Regions from separate parts of the Homo sapiens genome. Here region 1 is linked to region 2. Evidence: promoter capture Hi-C in 16 types of primary human blood cells and fetal thymus (Javierre and others, 2016). All regions are on one chromosome and are shown on one strand. Each heading gives the region's core, a stretch centred on a gene start or on the middle of the fragment in contact. The rest is flanking DNA. Distances are from core to core; before and after follow the strand shown. Region 1 holds the start of NLRX1 (NLR family member X1). Region 2 holds the start of RNF26 (ring finger protein 26).

What was found. Contacts are between HindIII fragments. The CHiCAGO score rates a contact against its expected background, and 5 or more counts as called.
Region 1: the fragment with the promoter of NLRX1 here is called in contact with the fragment with the promoter of RNF26 in region 2 in 8 of 17 cell types (naive CD4 T cells, fetal thymus, non-activated CD4 T cells and 5 more); the score reaches 9.0 in naive CD4 T cells.

Annotation. Positions count from the first base shown.
Region 1 is chr11:119,167,361-119,170,060 of GRCh38, reverse strand. NLRX1 (NLR family member X1) reads right to left here and starts at 1,336. Exons shown (of 10, transcript NM_001282144.2): 1 at 759-1,336. RefSeq lists enhancers at 1-540, 541-1,246 and a silencer at 818-1,427. The HindIII fragment of the contact is 14,996 bases long and covers 1-2,700 here.
Region 2 is chr11:119,333,157-119,335,856 of GRCh38, reverse strand. RNF26 (ring finger protein 26) reads right to left here and starts at 1,330. Exons shown (of 1, transcript NM_032015.5): 1 at 1-1,330. The coding sequence starts at 734. RefSeq lists an enhancer at 797-1,688. The HindIII fragment of the contact is 9,565 bases long and covers 1-2,700 here.

The DNA of each region.
Region 1 (2,700 bases), core at 87-2,586, 170 kb after region 2:
TTTTCCTCTGTTAGAGTCCCAACCAATTTTTTTTTTTTTTTTTTTTTTTTTTTTTTTTTTCCTGAGACAGGGTCTCTCGCTCTGTTGCCCAGGCTGGAGTGCAGTAGTACGATCTCAGCTCACAGCAACCTCTACCTCCTGGGCTCAAGCCATCCTCCTGCTTCAGCCTCCTGAGTAGCTAGGACTAAAGTGGTGTGCCACCACACCTGGCTAATTTTTGGCTTTGGTTTTTGTAGAGACGGGGTTTTCACCATTGTTGCCCAGGGTGGTCTCGAACTCCTGGGCTCAAGTGATCCGCCCGCCTTGCCCTCCCAAAGTGCGGGGACTGCAGGCGCGAGCCACCACTCGGGCCCCAACCAATCTTTTAAGATCCTGCTCAAAAGTCTCCGTCCCTGGGAAGTCTTTTCTGAGGCCTCTGAACTCACTTAAATGGAATGTGCCCCTATTTGGCACCTGGTCTCCTCCACTGAGATCGGGGCTTCTTGGGCAGGGTACGCTTAAGGAGAACTGGCTGCATTGGGCCACCTGCCTTAGCAGGGCCAACCAGCGGAGGAGCTGGCTGGGTGCTGGCCCGTCCCAGGGGCTGCGGAAGGGTTAAGAGAGGGCTCCAGAAGCCTGAGAAAGCCTAGGTTCCGGTTTAACCTCGGATCTAGGGCCACTGAGTCAAGACGGGACTTGCGGGGCCGAGGGCAGTTCTCCGGTGATCACCCAGGTCTCCAGGGCAATGAGAAAAGGAGGGGGCACTGCAGGAAACGTACAGGGGCGGTGTTCCTACAGGTCCAGAGCTCCTCCACCAAACTGGGTCCCAAACAGCTCTCCTACTTTCGGGTGGCCTCGGGAACGCAGGGGGAGACTTGCCAGAACGCCCGCCATTCAGCGCCCAGCTCCGTCCCTCTCGTTCTCGGCCGGGATCTCCCCGCGGCCCTTGCACAGCCTCCTCCCCCGGCCCGCCCTGCCCCCCGCTCAGCGCGGCCTCCCAGCCAGGGCGCAGGGGTTATCAAGCCCGCTAGGCCTTTACCCGCGGCTGCCCAGTTCCGGGAGCCGTCGGCCGCGGCCCAGAGGGGTCGGCTGGGCGGACGCCGGCGTCTCCCGCTAGCTCCCAGAGTCCCCGGCTCCTCGGCGTGGCGCTTCCTGCCCACCTCCGCCCGCCTGCGCGGCCCTGGCACCTGGCAGCGGGCGCGAAAGAGGACGAGCCCAGGCACTCGGGCCTGCGGGGTCCTGGGACGAGGGGGTCAGCGAGAGGGGCCCGGTGCTCCGGAGCAGGCGCAGGGCTGGAACCCCGGCGCCACCCGTCCCGCCATCGTCCCCCCTCCCTGCCTCCATCCCCGCGGGCACTGCCGCTAGTACTGCCCTCTGCAGGTTCCCAAGCGCCAGTGACACCCAGTGACCTCACTAACCACCTCCCAGGCTGGGCTGCTTGTTAGGCCCATTTTACAGATGAAGAAACTGATGCTCAGAAGGGTGAAATGACTTGTGCAGGTTGATTCAGTTAGGAAGTGGATGAGCCAGAACAACATCCCGGGCCTGAGTCTTCCTACCTTACCCCTGGGCCTCCCTGAGGCGCGGTGTCCAGGGGATTCTTCCCTCTGTCCCTCTCCGCCTCCCCAGCCTACCTTCAGGCAGAGACCTGAGCCTAAGGCTTCCTTGGGTTCTGCCTTATGTATCCGGTCCTCTTCAGAGCCCAGACCTATGTGTGTGGCTGCTGGTAACCTTGGTTAAGAAAGAAGGAAGAATGGGGGCTGAAGGACAACTTGCACCCCAACCTGCTCTTCGGGTCTGACACCCATTCATGGCCTAGCCCTGGGGCTTCCCAGTTCCCAAAGCCCCCACCCTTATCCCTACACTTCCACACACTTCCACACCCTGGGCTCACGTAGCCCAGAAGGAGGAGCCACCCACCACCCACAGCCAGGGCACGCCTTCGTATGCAAGCATGAGTGTACGATGTTCACACAACAGAGCTGTGCACTAGGGCACCCACAGAGAGGCTCTCCAGGGCAGGGCTGGGAAGAGGACTTACTGAAAACAATGTGGATGTTTCATTTAGACATTTGTTCATTCGTTGTACTGTGGTATTGGGTAGCACTGAGCACCTCACCCCCACAAGCCAGGTCCAGCACTAGGCCCTGGGCTGCCAACCACAGCAAGGCAGGCACCTCACTTTAATGGAATCAACTACCACATTTACAAATGATGTACTTCAAGGCCGAGGCAGGAGGATCACTTGAGACCAGGAGTTTGAGACCAGCCTGGGTGACATAGTGAGACCCTGTCTCTATTTAAAATGAAAATAGAAAATAAAAATATAAAAAACAGACAAACAAATGATGTACTTCAGTGGCAGAGGCAAGGCATTAGGAGAGTCTGGAAAAGGGAGTGCAGAGGAGGTAACATTTGTACTGGATCTGAAAAAATAAATCAGAGGACCAGCCGCGGTGGCTCACACCTGTAATCTCAGCACTTTGGAAGGCTGGGGGTGAGGGCAGATCTCCTGAGGCCAGGAGTTTGGGACCAGCTCAAACTCGTCACCATGGCCAACATGGTGAAACCCCCGTCTCTACTAAAAATAACAAAAATTGGCCAGGCATGGTGGCTCATGCCTGTAATCCTAGCACTTTGGGAGGCCAAGGCAGGCGGATTGCCTGAGCTCAGAAGTTCACGACCAACCTAGGCAACGTGGTGAAACCTCATCTCTACTAA
Region 2 (2,700 bases), core at 81-2,580:
AACACAGTCACCGTCACTGCCAGCACACAAGCTAGCAACACCAAGCCAGTGAGATTGACAAGCACAAAGCTGGCCAGGAGGCGGGCAGCTGAGGCCAGCAGCTCCAGGGCTAGTTGGCAGGGTGTCCAAAGGAGGATGGCCATGGCCACAGCACTGCTGGAAATGTGGGCTAGGAAGGCAGCCACTACGTCCGTCATCCTCCACAGAGGCCCGGTCACTGCATCCCACAGGGCCAGCACCAGGGAAAAGAGGTTCTGAGTGCCGATGAGGCAGATGTTGACCAGGCTGTTGATCACATAAGCCACCAGGCTCATGGCAATGGCACAGATGTCACAGGCCTGGCGCAGCAAAGCATGGCCACTGGAGACCACATTGAGGACGCCCCGGTGCAGTATCTCCCTGCTCCGCAGTGCCCCATGAGAGGCCAGGTGCCCCAGGAGCTTTAGGCTCTCTAGGCCAGAGCAGCAGCTATACAGCAGAGTACACAAGGCCTGCAAGCCCCCACATGTGAACCGGACCACGGCTTCGATCAAGGCCAGCAATGAAAGCAAGACTCCGCGGCCCAAGTGCAGAAGACTAGTCAGTACCGTGTGCGGCAGGTTGTAGACGAAGGCCAGGAGCCAGGCCAGGGAAGCCAGGAGGGAGGACACCAGCAGGAAGTTGAGGTCCAACACCAAGGTCAGCACGTCCAGCACCAGGCCCAACCCATTCACTACCAGGTACACTGCCTCCATGATAGGGCTATGGAAGTTAGTCCAAAACAAAGTCTGGCTCCTCGGTTGGGGGGTTGTCAAGGTTGTCAATATTTTAGGGGGTCTGGGATTAATTTGGAAGGAAAATGAGCAGTCTCCAACCCAGGGGGTACCAAGAATCTGAGGAAGAAGTGGGTAAGACGGAAGTGGAGTCTTGGTAGAGGGAAAGGTGGCCAGGTGCCAGTCCAAGAGTCCAGGTTTTGAAGATGGGCTGTTTGGGAGGGAAGAGGCCAAACATCTCTAAAGCGAAGGCGAGCCCAGGCCGTAGGAGCGACCTCAGCTTTGGATGCCTGGTGTGGCGAACCACGGCCGGGCAACGGGTCAGACCGGGAGGAGACGAGGAACGGATGGAATGGGATCGGATCGGATCGGGTCGCGTCGGGTCGGGCCGGGGCCGGGTGGGGTCGATGTAAGCTGGGCGCAGGCTCTCAGTCCAGCTACGCAGGTGCCCCTGTCCCCGCCCGGCCCCCGTCTTCCCGCTAGCGGCGCTTTGCACCCAAAAGGGGAGTGGGAGAGGCAGCCAGCTTCAGCAAACCCCAAGCGCAGCCCCTACTCCGCTGGGCGCCGCCATCTTGTGTGCAAAGGGGTGGAGCCAGAGGCGTGACGAGGAGGGAGGGACGACAAACTCCAGCCAATCGGTGAAGGCCAACCACAAAAACGTCGATCACTCATTGGTCCGTTTGAATGGCGCCCGAACGTATTTACTTTCCAAAGGGAAGGAGAGGCGACAGATTAAATCCCCTCCCCCTTTAGGCGGGGATTGGTTCGTTGGCGGGCAGCGTCGAAATACGCTCTCCTAGCCCCACCCTCTAAAAGAGCAGGGTCTTGGACTCCCCTCAATTTGGGAGCTGTTCTTTCTCCCGGCCTCTGAACGCGAGGTTTTTTTTTTGGCTTGGGTCGGAGGTCACTGCCTCTGGGCTGGGCTTTGGAATAGCACCGCCTTCGCAGCCTGCCCAGATCCGTCTCCTCATTCTCTTCTATTTATTCATCTATTCTATCATTTATTGAACTCCTACAGTGCATTGAGGATACAAAAAAATTTTAAGACAGTGCCTGCTGTTCACAAGGGAAAGCAGATTATTACAGGGGATTCCCAAACTGCTATTCCAAACTTTCCTCACCAGGTTTTTCAACATCTCGGAAGATTACTTCATTGTCATTGAGAAAAAGGGGCTACAGATTTAGAAACCGCTCAGCTTCCTACCCTGGGCCTTCCTACCCTAGAGTGCAGTGGCGCGATCTCGGCTCACTGCAACCTCTGCCTCCCGGGTTCAAGCGATTCTCCTGCCTCAGCCTCCCGGGTAGTACAGGTGCCCACCACCTCACCCGGCTAATTTTTGTATTTTTAGTAGAGACGAGGTTTCACCATGTTGGCCAGGCTGGCCTCGAACTCCTGAACCTCGTGATCCACCCGCCTCGGCCTCCCAAAGTGCTGAGATTACAGGCGTGAGCCACCAAGCCCGGCCCTGCCCTTTTCTTTAATACTCAAACAATAGTCAAAATATATTTGAAACCCCATCCCAAATATATTGGGAATCCTGGCGTTTTCTACTAACTCCAAGGATGCTTAGCAGACTCCTAGTGGACTTATCTTTCCCCTGGTCACCTTTGCTGAATTTCCTACTTGAGTTGAATTCTCCATCTCCACTCCTGGGCTCCTGAAAGTGTCCGTCCTCCTTCAGTCTGCCCTGAACACTGCCTCAGAGTCCTTCATTCTCCAAAGCATCACTGATAAGAAGCTGAGGTGTGCAGCAAACCTTTACTGAGGCCTTGGGATCGTGGTAGGGGTACGCTATAGTGCAGAGGAAGGACTGCAGTCGCTGAAACTCCTCTGGCTTCTTCCTACCCTTTCTCTCTCCCTGCTCTCAGGCCCTGGCCAGGTTATGGTTTGTTGTGTTGTGATGTGTTGCTGATGTTTTTATTTTCCTACTCGCATCCTCCCGCCAGT